3 separate regions of the Homo sapiens genome follow, and regions 1 and 2 are each linked to region 3. Evidence: promoter capture Hi-C in 16 types of primary human blood cells and fetal thymus (Javierre and others, 2016). All regions are on one chromosome and are shown on one strand. Each heading gives the region's core, a stretch centred on a gene start or on the middle of the fragment in contact. The rest is flanking DNA. Distances are from core to core; before and after follow the strand shown.

Region 1 (4,242 bases), core at 124-2,623, 130 kb before region 3:
TAATCCCAGCACTTTGAGAGGCCTAGGTGGGCAGATCAGTTGAGGTCAGGAGTTCGAGACCATCCTGGCCAATATGGTGAAACCCTGTCTCTACTAAAAACACAAAAATTAGCCAAGCGTCGTGGCAGGCACCTGCAGTCCCAGGTACTCGGGAAGCTGAGGCAGGAGAATCACTTGAACTTGGGAAGCAGAGGTTGCAATGAGCCAAGATCGCACCATTGCACTCCAGCCTGGGTGTCACAGCGAGACTCCGTCTCAGAAAAAACACTAAAAGTAGAAATCCTCATTGTTTTAATGCAAAAGCATGAAGCACACACTGGTTGTTACACATGCTTTGTAAGCGTTGGTACAAAGACTCTAAAATCCAGACAGACTTCCTGAAGTCGTGACCTTGGCCCAAAATCACCAATTCCAATTTAATTTCCTCCTCTGTAAAACAAGGATACCAGTAACTGCCTCAGGAATATGGTTAACTGAACTACGCAAAACATTGCGAACTGTGCTAGGCACAAAGACACATGCTTGGTGAACACAACTTGCCTAGATCGGCCTGGCTCTGAAATGTCACCCGCCCCAACAACAGACTACTCACAAAGAAACCTTTCCAGGGCCAATCCCTCCTTTATACTTAAGTAGCTACACCAGGAGCCAGGGAAAGGGCCCCCAGGTGTCAGGCCCAAAAGATGTCCCATCCTTGTGGAACCATTCATCACAGCTCTCGACTTCCAGTAACACGCCTCAGGACAATCGCCAATCCCCAAAACGACGGAAAACGAGTTCATTCCAGAGTGCCCCGCAGCCAACAGCTCTCGACCCCCCGCAGAAAGGCATTGAGAATTAAAAGAACCGGAGCTGCAGGGGACCCCGATTAACACCTCCACGTGAAATCAAAGTAGCCCGCGCACTGAGCGGGATAAAAATACCTTCCATTTTGGCCAAAACTCAGTTTCTCATTGCCCCGAGACCGCCCGGCCACACTTCCGCGTGTTCCTCATCGCTGAGGACACACAAGGGTCCAATTCGGCCAAGACTCTACCCCAGGGCCCCCACCCACTACCCGAGTTCAAGGTAAGCAAAATCTAGTTGCAAAATACCTGTCCTGTGCTGGAAGCTCTATCACCCTCGCCTCGAGAAGGAAATGCCACATTGTAGCCAACCCTAGGCCTAAAGAGAGCCGCGGCATTTCCTACAGATTCCCCTTATCCCAAAAGACTTCCATTTTGCTTCATTATGGATGTTAAGCTCCGCAAAACATGCAAGACAGAGAGGGTGCGACCCCATTCCGGCCTGGATCCCACCCGGCCCCTTGCCGCCCCGGCCCGCGCGGAGCCCATACCTGCACCTCCGCCATCTTCGGCAGCCGCTTGGAAAAGGAGGAGGTTTTGTCGCAGGGTTTCTTATCCCTTGAAACAGGGGCGGCAGAAGTGACGCAACGCGGTTGCGCGGACGGCTTCCTGTGTTTTCATTGGTCGAAGCGTTCTGCGCGTGCGCAGAGATTCCCCAGGGAAGGCGGGCCCTCTTCCGAATGTCCAATCCGGACATTCTTCCGGTTGGACCTCCGCGGTCAGCGCTGTGCCCGGCGAGAGATCACGTGGGGCGCGGAGGCGGTGCTGCTGGGGCACGGCCGTCCAGCCTCGGCGGCCATATTTTTGAGGGGCTGTTCATCTCGTTCACACGCTCTGTCCGCCATGTTTGTGAGTGGAAGCGCCATTACCCCTTCAAGCGACTGAAGGCTGCAGGGCCTCTGGTGGCCCGCATGGGGAGACCAGACCCGCCAGGCCCGCCTTTCCGCACTCAGTCCGGGCTTACTTTATTTTGTGAGACAGGGTCTCGCTGTGTTGTCCACACCAGAGTGCTGTGGGGCGATCATGGCTCACCGCAGCCTCCACTTCCTGGGCTCAAGGGATCCTCCTGCCTCAGCCTCTCGAGTAACTTGGACTACAGGGGCGCGCCACCATGCCTGGCTAATATATATATATATATATATTTTGTTGTGGCCCGGGAACGGGGGGAGTCTGACATGTTGGCCAGGCTGATCTCGAACTCCTGGGCTCAAGCGATCCTCCCGTTTCGGCCTCCCAAAGTGCTGGGATTACCGGCGTGAGCCCCGGAGCCTTGCCCATTCTAGGCTTAGAGATTTGGATTCCTGTGTCTGGTCGACTTCACTGTGACCTGGAGAAACCCTTGGCCTTATCTGGGCCTCAGTTTATCCATCTGTAAAACAGATGGAGGTGGTCTTCCCCAGGGGCTCTAAGAGTGGATCAAGGAATGGCTTCTAGTTGCCTGGCTGCACCAATCCACTGAGCGTTCCTCAGAGGAACTTCTCACTTTCTGGACTGTCGGCCTTTGCTTCAGCTGGGTCCCTTGCCCAGGATGCCCTCCCCACCCCCTCCAAATCTGGCTTGTCACCATCGCAATGCCATTTGGCTCTGGAAAGCCTCTCTGCTCTCCCTGCCTGGGTGAGTTGCCCCTCACACTGCCTCTGTTTTATCTCCATAGTAGCCTATGGCATCCTGCACCCAGGCTCGCTGAATCCCTTGTCTTCTCGTCCATAGCCAAGGAGACCTGGGGCACCTGGGCTGGTTCTGACTCAAATCCAGGCTCTGACATTGCCCAGCGCCGGCCCGGGGCTCCAGGGGACCTCAGAAAACACGTATTGAATGAAACATTGCATTGCAATTCAAAAACCAAGATTCTGAAATCAAAACTACCCCATTCACACCCATCCATAGACAGACCTGGCCAGAGCTGGTAGAAAAGGATGATTTATATACAATTTCATGGGGACAAGGGCTTTGTACAGAGTTGGGTAAATGGGGCCGGTGCTGGATTCTGGCGTTGCCTCCATTCTGGGGAGGGAATGAGAGGGGCCCAAGGAAGGGACCGGCCTCTAGCCAACTTCCTCTGTGTCCAGGCTATGCATCCTCTGGCTGGTGACTCCCCTCTGTGTGCCTCAGTATCCTCCCCTGTAAAATGGGATGATAGATGTCTGTCTCACTGCGTTGTTTAAGGCTCCGCTGAGAGAGGAGAGGGAAAGTAGCTTAGCTTGGGGCGGGCCACAGATTTATGCCCAAAACAACTCCATTCCCAGCAAGCGCTTACTATGTGCTAGGGCATTGCTGTCCAAGAGAACGTGGCCATGATAGAAATGTTCCCTATATTTCCCCGGGCGCGGTGGCTCATGCCTATAATCCCAGCAGTTTGGGAGGCTGAGGCTGGTGGATCACCTTAGGTTGGGAGTTTGAGACCAGCCTGACCAACAGGGAGAAACCCCATCTCTACTAAAAATACAAAATTAGGGCCAGGCACAGTGGCTCACGCCTGTAATTCCAGCACTTTAGGAGGTCGAGGCGGGCGGATCACCTGAGGTTGGGAGTTTGAGACCAGCCTAGCTAACATGGAGAAACCGTTTCTACTAAAACTACAAAATTAGCTGAGGCAGGAGAATTGCTTGAACCCGGGAGGCGGAGGTTGCAGTGAGTCGAGATTGCACCATTGCACTCCAGCCTTGGCAATAAAAGCAAAAGTCTGTCTCAAAAGAAAAAAACAAAAACAAAAACAAAATTTGCTAGGCATGGTGGTGCATGTCTGTAATCCCAGCTACTTGGGAGGCTGAGGCAGGAGAATCGCTTGAACCTGGGAGGCAGAGGTTGCGGTGAGCCAAGATCGTGCCATTGCACTCCAGCCTGGGCGACAAGAGCGAAACTCCCATCTCAAAAAAAAAAAAAAAAAGAAAAAAAAGAAAAAGAAACGTTCTCTATTTTTGCTCTTTAATACGGGAGTAACAAGCCACATGTGAATACTGAACACTTGAGATGGGGCCGGTGCACTACTCAGGAGGCTGAGGCAGGAGGATCACTTGAGTCCAGGAGTTTGAGGCTGGACTTAAACTTCTTTTGAGACAGTCTTGCTCTGTTTCAGGCTGGAATGCAGTGGCATGATCTCAGCTCACTGCAGCCTCTGCCTCCCGGGTTCAAGCCATTCTTCCTGCCTCAGCCTCCTGAGTTAGCTGGGATTACGGGTGCACGCCACCATGCCCAGCTCATTTTTATATTTTTAGTAGAGACGGGGTTTCACCATGTTGCCCAAGCTGGTCTTGAACTCTTAGGCTCAAGCGATCTGCCAAGGAGTTACAGGTGTGAGCCACCATGCTGGGTGAGATACAATAAAATTAATATCAGGTATTAGTTGGGCAGGGCGGCTCATGGCTGTAATCCTATCACTTTGGGAGGTCAAGGCGGG
Region 2 (4,104 bases), core at 1,512-4,011, 100 kb before region 3:
CAGGCGTGAGCCACTGCGCCTGGTCTATTTTCTTTTGTTAAAAATAAATATGGTGTTGGGGGGTGGGAGGCAAGGGGAGGGAACTTAGAGGGCAGGTCAATAGGTGCAGCAAACCACCATGGCACGTGTATCCCTATGTAACAAGCCTGCGCGTTCTGCACATGTATCCCAGAACTAAAGTAAAATAAAATTTAAAAAAAAGAAGGCCGGGTGTAGTGGCTCACACCTGTAATCCCAGCACTTTGGGAGGCCAAGGTGGGCGGATCACGAGGTCAGGAGATCGAGACCATCCTAACATGGTGAAACCCTGTCTCTACTAAATATACAAAAAAAAAATTAGCCGGGTGTGGTGGTGGGCACCTGTAGTCCCAGCCACTCGGAAGGCTGGGGCAGGAGAATGGCGTGAACCTGGGATGCAGAGGTTGCAGTGAGCCGAGATTGCGCCACTGCACTCCAGCCTGGGCGACAGAGCGAGACTCTGTCTCAAAAAAAAAAAAAAAAGAAAGAAAGAAATATGGTTTGGCCCATGATATAGTTCAGATGTCCCACCCAAATCTCATGTTGAAATGTAATCCCTGGCCAGGCGCAGTGGCTCACGCCTATAATCCCAGCACTTTGGGAGGTCAAGACAGGCGGATCACTTGAAGCTAGGAGTTCAAGATCAGCCTGGGCAACATGGCGAGTCTCTTGTCTCTGCAAAAATACAAAAACACCCAGTCATGTGTGCTGGTGTGTGCCTGTGATCCCAGATACTCAGGAGGCTGAGGTGGGGGGCTCACTTGGACCTCGGAGGTTGAGGCTGCAGTGAGCCATGATTGTGGCACTGCACTCCAGCCGGGTGCCAGAGGGAGACTGGTGCCAACATGCCCAGCTAATTTATCTATTTTTTGTGGAGACAGGGTTTCACTGTGTTGCCCAGGCTGGTTTCAAACTCCTGGCCTCAAGCGATCCACCCACTTTTGCCTCCCAAAGTGCTAGGATTACAGGCGTGAGCCACCATGTCTGGCCAGGTATTTTTTGTTTTTTGTTTTTTTTTGTGACACAAGGTCTCACTCTGTCACTCAGGCTGGAGTGCAGTGGCACGATCTCGGCTCACTGCAACCACTGCCTCCTGGGTTCAAGCAATTTTCCTGCCTCAGCCTCCTAAGTAGCTGGGACTATAGGTGCCCACCACCGTACCCAGCTAATTTTTTGTATTTTTAGTAGAGACCAGGTTTCACCGTGTTGCCCAGGCTGGTCTCGATCTCCTGACCTCGTGATCCGCCTGCCTCAGCCTCGCGAAGTACTGGGATTACAGGCGTGAGCCACTGCGCCCCCAGGTGTTTCTTTACAGCAATGTGAGAACCGCCTAACAGCCCACTAAATTGATTTTAGGGTCCAGGAATGGGTCGCTATCCATCATCTGGCGAACGCTACTCTACGAGGCGGGTTGTGTGCCCACTCACTGTACAGATGAGGGAACTGAGGTAGGGAGAGGTGAAGCCACTTGCTGATGATCCTGCCGTGGAAGGCGGTGGGGCTGGGCCCGAATTCCAAGCCTGGGTTATCTCACAGCCTCTGGTCTGAGCCCCACCCCGCCTGCCCAGCTGGCCCAGGTGCCCACAGACCCTTCACCTGCAGGGTGTGGCCTTGGGCCTGCACCCGGGCCCCCCACGCCCGAAGTCGTCTTGCGCTCAGCTCCACCTCCGCCTCCGCAGCCTTGAGCTCCGCTCCCTGCCTCTCCAGCCTCGAGGCCAGGGTAGACTTCCGGCGCTCCAGTGCAGCCGCCAGGGCCCACAGCAGGGCTGCCCGGGCTCCTGGGGACTGGCCCGCCCAGCTGTGGGCAGACAGCGCACAGTGGGGGTTGGCATCCTGGTCTTGGCTCTCCTGACACCCCACCTCTGTCCACAGCCCCTACCCTGGGGGCCCAGCCTCCCAGTCCACCAATTGCTGTGGGCAGGCTCCCCTCTCTGCCACACCATGACCCTTGGGCTTTCCCGTGTGACCCCTTACCCAGGGAAAGCCTGGTGAGCGGCCTCCACAGCACCTCGGATGTCCTTGGCTCCACCCTCAGCCACGTAGCCATGGAGGTTGCCAGACGAATCCCGGATGGGCCTGGAGCTTCGGGCCCCAGGAGCCTGGAAACGGCCCCCAACGAAGAGCCCATAGGGGGGTGCTGGGCTGGAGTAGGGTGGGACATGAGGAGGAGTCCTGGGGCCTCAATCTGCTCAGACCCTATGCTCTACCGCACTGGGAAGACTGCCTTGGCTCCCGTGAGCCTCTGGGGCACCCCAAACCCCTGTTCCCATGAGCCTCTGGGGGACCCTAAAACTCCTGCTCCCATGATTCACTGGGGGACCCTAAACTCCAGCTCCCATGAGCCTCTGGGGGACCTTAAACTGCTCCCATGAGCCTCTGGGGAACCCCAAATTCCTGCTCCCATGAGCCTCTGGATGACTCAAGTTTCTGCTCCCATGAGCCTCTGGGGGACCCCAAACCCCTGTTCCCACTAGCCTCTGGGTACCCTAAACTCCTGCTCCCATGAGCCTCTGGGGGACCCTAAACTCCTACTCCCATGAGCCTCTGGCAGACCCTAAACTGCTCTCATAAGCCTGTGGGGCACCCCAAATTCCTGTTCCCATGAGCCCCGGAGGACCCAAAGCTTCTGCTCCCATGAGCCTCTGGAGGACCCTAAGTTCCTGCTCCATGAGCCTCTGGGGGACCCTAAGCTCCTGCTCCCATGAGCCTCTGGTAGACCCTAAACTGCTCCCTTGAGTCTCTGGGGGGACCTCAAACTCCTGCTCCCATGAGCCTCTGGAGGACCCCAAGTTTCTGCTCCCATGAGCCTCTGGGGGACCCCAAGCTCCTGCTCCCATGAGCCTCTGAGGGACCCCAAGCTTCTGCTCCAGTGAACCTCTGGGGGACCCCAAGCTCCTAGACCCATGAGTTTCTGGGAGAGTACAGACATTCATGGGGCAGAGCTGAGAGTCTCGGCAGGCCTGGGGTAGGGAAAGTGTGAGGCCACAACGTGGTACTCAGCAGGACTAAGAGATGGTTTGGATGGACCTCGCGCCAGCCCTCCAGTCCACGGGGAAACAGGCATCAATTCCCCTCTCCCCGTTCACACTCCCAGACCACTGGCCCCCAACGACTCACCTGGGCCCTATTTCAGGCCCAGCCGGCAGGGTTGAGGGAACAGCGAGGCCAAAGGTGTCATAGTTCAGGTTCTTGGAGAGGCAGGACAGCCGGGCAGGGGTCCCTGAGGGCCGCAGATACTCATACAGCCCCTGTGAGAGGGACGGTGTCAAGAGGATGCAAGGGGCACGCGAGGCCGGATGCGAGTGTCAAGGGCATGGGGCGGCGGGGGGGCTGGTGACGGGGAGGGGATGTACTCACGTCTGGGCCCCCGTGCCAGGAACACCCACTCTCCTTGCAGCCGCCTGTGGGCACCGAAGGGTCTCTGAGGCCGTGGGCGTTGATCCAGACAGTGCCCACCTGGAGCCTGTGGGGAAGATGAAGGTGTCCAACAGAGGAAAACAGACGGTGGCAGGCCGGGAGAGGGGTGAGTTAAAGGCGCGGGGAGCGACCCAGGGAGAAGGGAGATGAAGATGGAAGAATGAGGAGAGGAGTGAGCGCCCGGGCCACGCAGACTGACCCATAGCCCAGCTCCAGCGCCTGCCCCAGCCTCTCGCTCCACACACTGGCGCTGCCCCCGCGGGGCGTCCCGTTGGCCACCAACAGTGCCTCCTTGGCTGTGCGGAAGGGGGAGGCCACGACCACAGGCCACGGCACCTGCAAGGGGTGACCGGGAGGCTCAGCCCTCCAGGGCCCACCCACCAGGGAAGGAGCCTAGAGCAGGCAGCAGCCCCCACGCCCAGGTCACATGGTTACCCCAAGGGCTTCCCCAGGCACAGAGCTGCTGCCCTTGGCTGGCGGTGGGTAGGAGCTCTGCAGCCTTAAGGGTCTCACCTCCACCTGGGCACATGGGGAGGCTGGGGGCAGGTTGGAGACCAAGGTTGGGGGATAGAATGGGCGTTCCGAAGGCACATCACCAGCCTGGAACACCTAGGGAGAGAAATGATCTAGAAGTCGACTTCTGGTCCCTTCCTGCTGAGACCGAGGACT
Region 3 (4,672 bases), core at 1-2,500:
CCCACGTCAGTTGACCTCAGTCCTGGAGACCAAGTCCTGGAAGTCCTGGCGGTGTTCTCTGATTGCGGCCCTCGTTTCGGAGTCCCGCCCAATCGCAATGGCCACGCCCCTTGGCTGAAAGCCACGCCCCTGCACTGGGCCACGCCCCTGCACTGGACCACGCCCCTGCGTCCCAGATCTTGCCCTCATCACCCCAAGTTCCAGTCCTAGGCTCCTCCTACTGGAGACACCGGAGTACAAGCATCCCTTTTAGCTCTCACTCTAATTGTGTATCTGTTTCGGAACCTTTTCTCCGTGTCCCTTCTGGTTTTCCCGCTCCCGCTCCACTAAAAAGTCCCGTTGTCTCCGGAAACCCTAAATCCAGTCTTATATTTCATCTTCCAAGGAACCCAGAATCAGACTTCCTTTTCCCTGAGGACCTCAGGTCCGGACTCCCGCCCCCTCTAGTCCCGTAATTTTGAACACGCAGCCTTTCACCCTTAAGGGACCGGGCCCTAAGCCATCTTCCCTCAGGCACCAAAGCTCTCTTCCCCGTCCCGGGACAGCCGCCAGCCGTCTCCAGTCCACTAGCGCCTGTAGATGAGGAATCTGCACCTACGTGGGCCTCCAATAAACTCCCGGTGGTCCTGCCCACGACTCTTAACTGTGGTGAGGTCACAAGGAAACCAGGTCGTCATAGGAATCAGTCAAAACCCATCCCCAGACCCCAATCCTCAAAAAAAAAAAAAAACAAAAAAAACAAAAAACAAAAAAACCAAAAACCAAACAGAAAAAAAGAAAAAAAACCTCAGGGCTTAACAGTAAAGACTCTTTGTATTCGTATCACTTCCGCACCCCCAATACACAAACACGAGGGTAGCCGGGATTCCAGGCGCCTAGCCCCGTCCCCTCTCAGACCTAGGAGCCCATATCTCTCTCCAGCCGCTTCCTCTCCCAGACCCAGGAGTCCCAGCCCCCAGACCCAGGAGTCCCAGCCCCCAGCCTCTCCTCCCTCAGATCAGGGGTTTCTGGCTCCTATCAGCCTTTTCCCTCCGACTTGGAGTCCGAACCCCCAATCCCCCTCCTTTCCCAAGCACCCAAATCCTGAGTTCCTACCAGCCCCGAGATAGACTAATCTCTCCCAAAGCAAAAATCCTTCCCCAAACTGTCACCGTCGGATCCCCCTTCCCGCTGTCCGCCGGCCGGGCCCGCCCCCCCCTCCGGTCCCTCCCACTTTTCCCAAACAAAGCTCCCGGCAACTTTCTCCCTCGCAGCGCCCCGCCCGCCCGCGGCTCCCCAGCCCCAGGCCGGGAGGTAGGAAGGCGCCGGCGGGAGTCGGGGATCCTGCTTTGGGGTGTGTGAGTTGGGGTGGGGAGTTGCTTCTTAGGAGGTGAGGCGTGCGTTTGCGGGACCGTCTCTGAATGGTTCGCAGCCCTCTTTTTGCCCGGGGGCCCGAATTTGCTCCCGTGACCGAGCCTCAGTGAGGAGTGGGAACTCTGGCCGGAGTTAGGGTGCCTGCGGCTGGGTCTGAGTTTGGGCGTGCGCGCAGGAGCGGGTGCGGGCCAAGGGCGCTGGCGGGGTGTGGGGCGTGCGTCTGCGGCGGTGTCACTTTGGAGTGAGAAGGACCCCTTGTGTAATCTGGGGGGCATTTGGTCCTTCTTACGGAGAAGGGAGGGCCTCTGGGGTGGCCGAGGGGAGGTTACGGGGCTTTCTGGATCTTAAGTCTTGCCTCTTTGGAGGTTTAGGGTCTGGGGCGGGAAATTAGGGGGACCTTTCTTACCCGGCTCCACCGTCCCTTTGTCTGGCCACATGGGGAAGGGCTGGGCTGGGATTTTGGCCTACGGGGGTCCTGAACGCCGCAGCGCCACTGGGCTTGGCTGGGGTCTTTGTCTGCTATGGTCGGCGGGAGGAGGGGAATAGGGGCCTGGACTCTGGGGTCCTGGGAAAGCTGTGGAGGACATGGAGCCTCCGGGGAGGCGGGATCTGACTGTATTGGAAAAAGTTTTCCCTGTTCCCGGCCTCCGGAAAGTCACTGGGAACTTGAGTTGGATCAGAGCCCACGGCGCACGGGGGAGGGGAGGGGCGGGGCCCGGTGCCGGAGGGGAGTCGCCCTGGCCGGCAAGCCCCTCCCCTGATGGGGGTTGTGGGAAGCTGGGGGAGGGGACGCCTGGGCCCTTTGTTCTGGCTCTTCTGATGGCAGGGCGCCCCTGTCCCCCAGCTTGTGGTTCTGTGGGTCTCTCCTGGTCTCGGCCTCAGCTGCTGCCCTGAGTCTCTGTCCCTGCCCTTTCTAGGTCTCCGTCTCCCTTTCTCTGGGTCTCTGTTGCCCTCTCTCTGAGCCTCTGTCCCCCTCTCTCTGAGTCTGTGTCCCCCTCTCTCTGGGTCTCTGGTCCCCTCTCTCTCTGGGTCTCTGTCCCTCTCTCTCTGGGTCTCTGTCCCCCTCTCTCTGGGTCTCTGTCACCCTCTCTCTCTGGGTCTCTGTCTCCCTCTCTGGGCCTCTGGACCCCTCTCTCTGGTCCCTGTCCCCCCCCCCCGGTCTCTGTCCCCCTCTTTCTGGTCTCTGTCTCCCCCTCTCCCTGGGTCTCTGTCTCCCTCTCTTTTTGGGTCTCTGTCCCTCTCTCTGGGTCTCTGTCCCCCTCTCTGGTCTCTGTCCCCCCCTCCCTCTGGTCTCTGTCCCCCCCTCCCTCTGGTCTCTGTCCCCCTCTCTCTCTGGGTCTCTGTCCCCTCCGTCACTGGTCTCTGTCCCCCCCTTCACTGGGTCTCTGTCCCCTTCTCTCTCTGGTCTCTGTCCCCCTCTGTCTCTGGGTCTCTATCCCCACCTCACTGGTCTCTGTCCCCCTCTCTCTCTGGTCTCTGTCCCCTTCTCTCTCTGGGTCTCTGTCCCCCCCCCTTGCTGGTCTCTGTCCCCATCCCCTCTCTGGGTCTCTGTCCCCCTCCCTCTCTGGGTCTCTGTCCCCCTCTCTCTAGACCTCCCCTCAGTCTTGCTTGGCCCCTCTTCTTTTCTGGCAGCTGCTGCTCACATCTTACCACCTGTTCTTGGGGTGGGACAGGGGAAGTTTCACCCACACCTTCCTTCCCCACCACTAACTTTTGCCTCCTGTCTTCTTTAAAACCCGTAATTCATACCCGAACCTTTAGCCTTCATGGCCCTCGGCATTACTCTAGGGTAATCATTGTGACTTCATCACAATTGAGTTCCTCTGGAAACTCTGAGAACACTCCCATCCTCAGCTTTCCAAGAAATCCAGCTCCTTCTCCTCCCTCAGACTCAGGAGTCCAGACCCCAGCCCCTTCTCCCTCACACCCAGGAGTCCAGGCCTCCAGCCCCCGCTCCCTCAGACCCAGGAGTCCAGGCCCCAGATCCTCCTCCCTCAGTCCTAGGAGTCCGGGCCCCAGCCCCTCCTCCCTCAGACTCAGGAGTTCAGGCCCCAGATCCTCCTCCCTCAGACCCAGGAATACCCCCCAGCTCCTCTTCCCTCAGACCCAGGAGTCCAGGTCCCCAGCCCCTCCTCCCTCAGACCCAGTGGTCCAGAGTCCCAGCCCTCTCAGCTTCAAGTCCCTTGAGGGTGGGGTTTGGGGGAAGCTTGCTGAGTTCTGTGTTCCTCCAGGCCCAGATGGGGGAACCCCGGGCTGGGGCCGCCCTGGACGATGGCAGCGGCTGGACGGGCAGTGAGGAAGGCAGTGAGGAGGGTACCGGCGGCAGTGAGGGGGCTGGGGGTGACGGGGGCCCGGATGCAGAGGGGGTGTGGAGCCCAGACATTGAGCAGAGCTTCCAGGAGGCCCTGGCCATCTATCCACCCTGCGGCCGCCGGAAAATAATTTTGTCTGATGAAGGCAAGATGTATGGTGAGTCTACTTCTGTCTTTTGCCCTGGCCCCCACTGATGAATAATGACAGTAACCAAGGTTTATGGAGCACTCTGAAGTAGGAGCTAGCATCACCATTTGCACAGATGAGGAAACTGAGGCACAGCTAGGTTAAGTGATTTGCTTATGGTCGCACAGAGCCAGTGCGTGATGGAGCTGGGATTTGAACCCAAGCAGTCTGGCTTCCACGTAGCTGAGGGGACCGGCAGCCCACTTGCTGCAGACCTTTGGGGACCCATGCTGCTTTCTTCTTCCCTGGTGTCCATGCTGTGGGGAAGTTCTGTTGAAAGTCTAACTAACTCTGTTCCGTCTTTGAATCTTCAGGTCGGAATGAACTGATCGCCCGCTACATCAAGCTGAGAACGGGGAAGACCCGAACTCGAAAACAGGTCTCGGAATGGACTTGTGGGCTTCTGTCTGGGATGGGCCGGTCTTCTTAGGGTCATCCTCGCATGGGCAGGTTCAGGTTCAAGGAAGAAGCTGCTTCCTGTGCGTTCATCTGTCTTCTCGGCATGTGTGTTAGTCCGTTTGTATTGCTATAAAGAATTACCCGAGGCTGGGTTATTTATGTATTTGTTTATTTTTTGAAATGGAGTCTAGCTCTGTTGCCCAGGCCGGAGTGCAGTGGCGCGATCTTGGCTCACTGCAACCTCTGCCTCCCGGGTTCAAGCAATTCTCCTGTCTCAGCCTCCCGAGTAGCAGGGATTACAGACATGCACTACCATGCCTGGGTAATTTTGTATTTTTAGTAGAGATGGGGTTTCACCATGTTGTCCAGGCTGGTCTCGAACTCCTGACCTCAGGTGATCCACTCACCTCAGCCCCCCAAA

The links. The method cuts DNA at HindIII sites, captures the fragments that hold promoters and counts their contacts. A CHiCAGO score of 5 or more calls a contact.
Region 1: a contact is called between the fragment with the promoter of RPL13A here and the fragment with the promoter of TEAD2 in region 3, in 3 of 17 cell types (total B cells, naive B cells and naive CD8 T cells). The highest score is 7.4, in total B cells.
Region 2: a contact is called between a fragment that was not itself captured here and the fragment with the promoter of TEAD2 in region 3, in 3 of 17 cell types (M0 macrophages, M1 macrophages and naive B cells). The highest score is 6.1, in M0 macrophages.

What each region holds. Positions count from the first base shown.
Region 1 is chr19:49,484,739-49,488,980 of GRCh38, reverse strand. RPL13A (ribosomal protein L13a) reads right to left here and starts at 1,373. Exons shown (of 8, transcript NM_012423.4): 1 at 1,337-1,373. The coding sequence starts at 1,351. FLT3LG (fms related receptor tyrosine kinase 3 ligand) reads right to left here. Exons shown (of 9, transcript NM_001459.4): 9 at 2,750-2,966. RefSeq lists enhancers at 793-1,397, 1,306-1,425, 1,486-1,985. The HindIII fragment of the contact is 13,590 bases long and covers 1-4,242 here.
Region 2 is chr19:49,463,794-49,467,897 of GRCh38, reverse strand. It overlaps ALDH16A1 (aldehyde dehydrogenase 16 family member A1), which reads right to left. Exons shown (of 17, transcript NM_153329.4): 9 at 3,949-4,044; 10 at 3,635-3,771; 11 at 3,376-3,481; 12 at 3,136-3,266; 13 at 1,993-2,160; 14 at 1,615-1,816. Among named protein-coding and RNA genes, the nearest start is that of FLT3LG, 8.4 kb to the left of the region's middle. The HindIII fragment of the contact is 235 bases long and covers 2,644-2,878 here.
Region 3 is chr19:49,358,994-49,363,665 of GRCh38, reverse strand. It overlaps TEAD2 (TEA domain transcription factor 2), which reads left to right and starts at 1,250. Exons shown (of 13, transcript NM_001256660.2): 1 at 1,250-1,333; 2 at 3,585-3,822; 3 at 4,167-4,231. The coding sequence starts at 3,591. It also overlaps a transcript of DKKL1 not described here. RefSeq lists enhancers at 1,457-2,165, 2,166-2,875, 3,421-3,921. The HindIII fragment of the contact is 6,430 bases long and covers 1-3,561 here.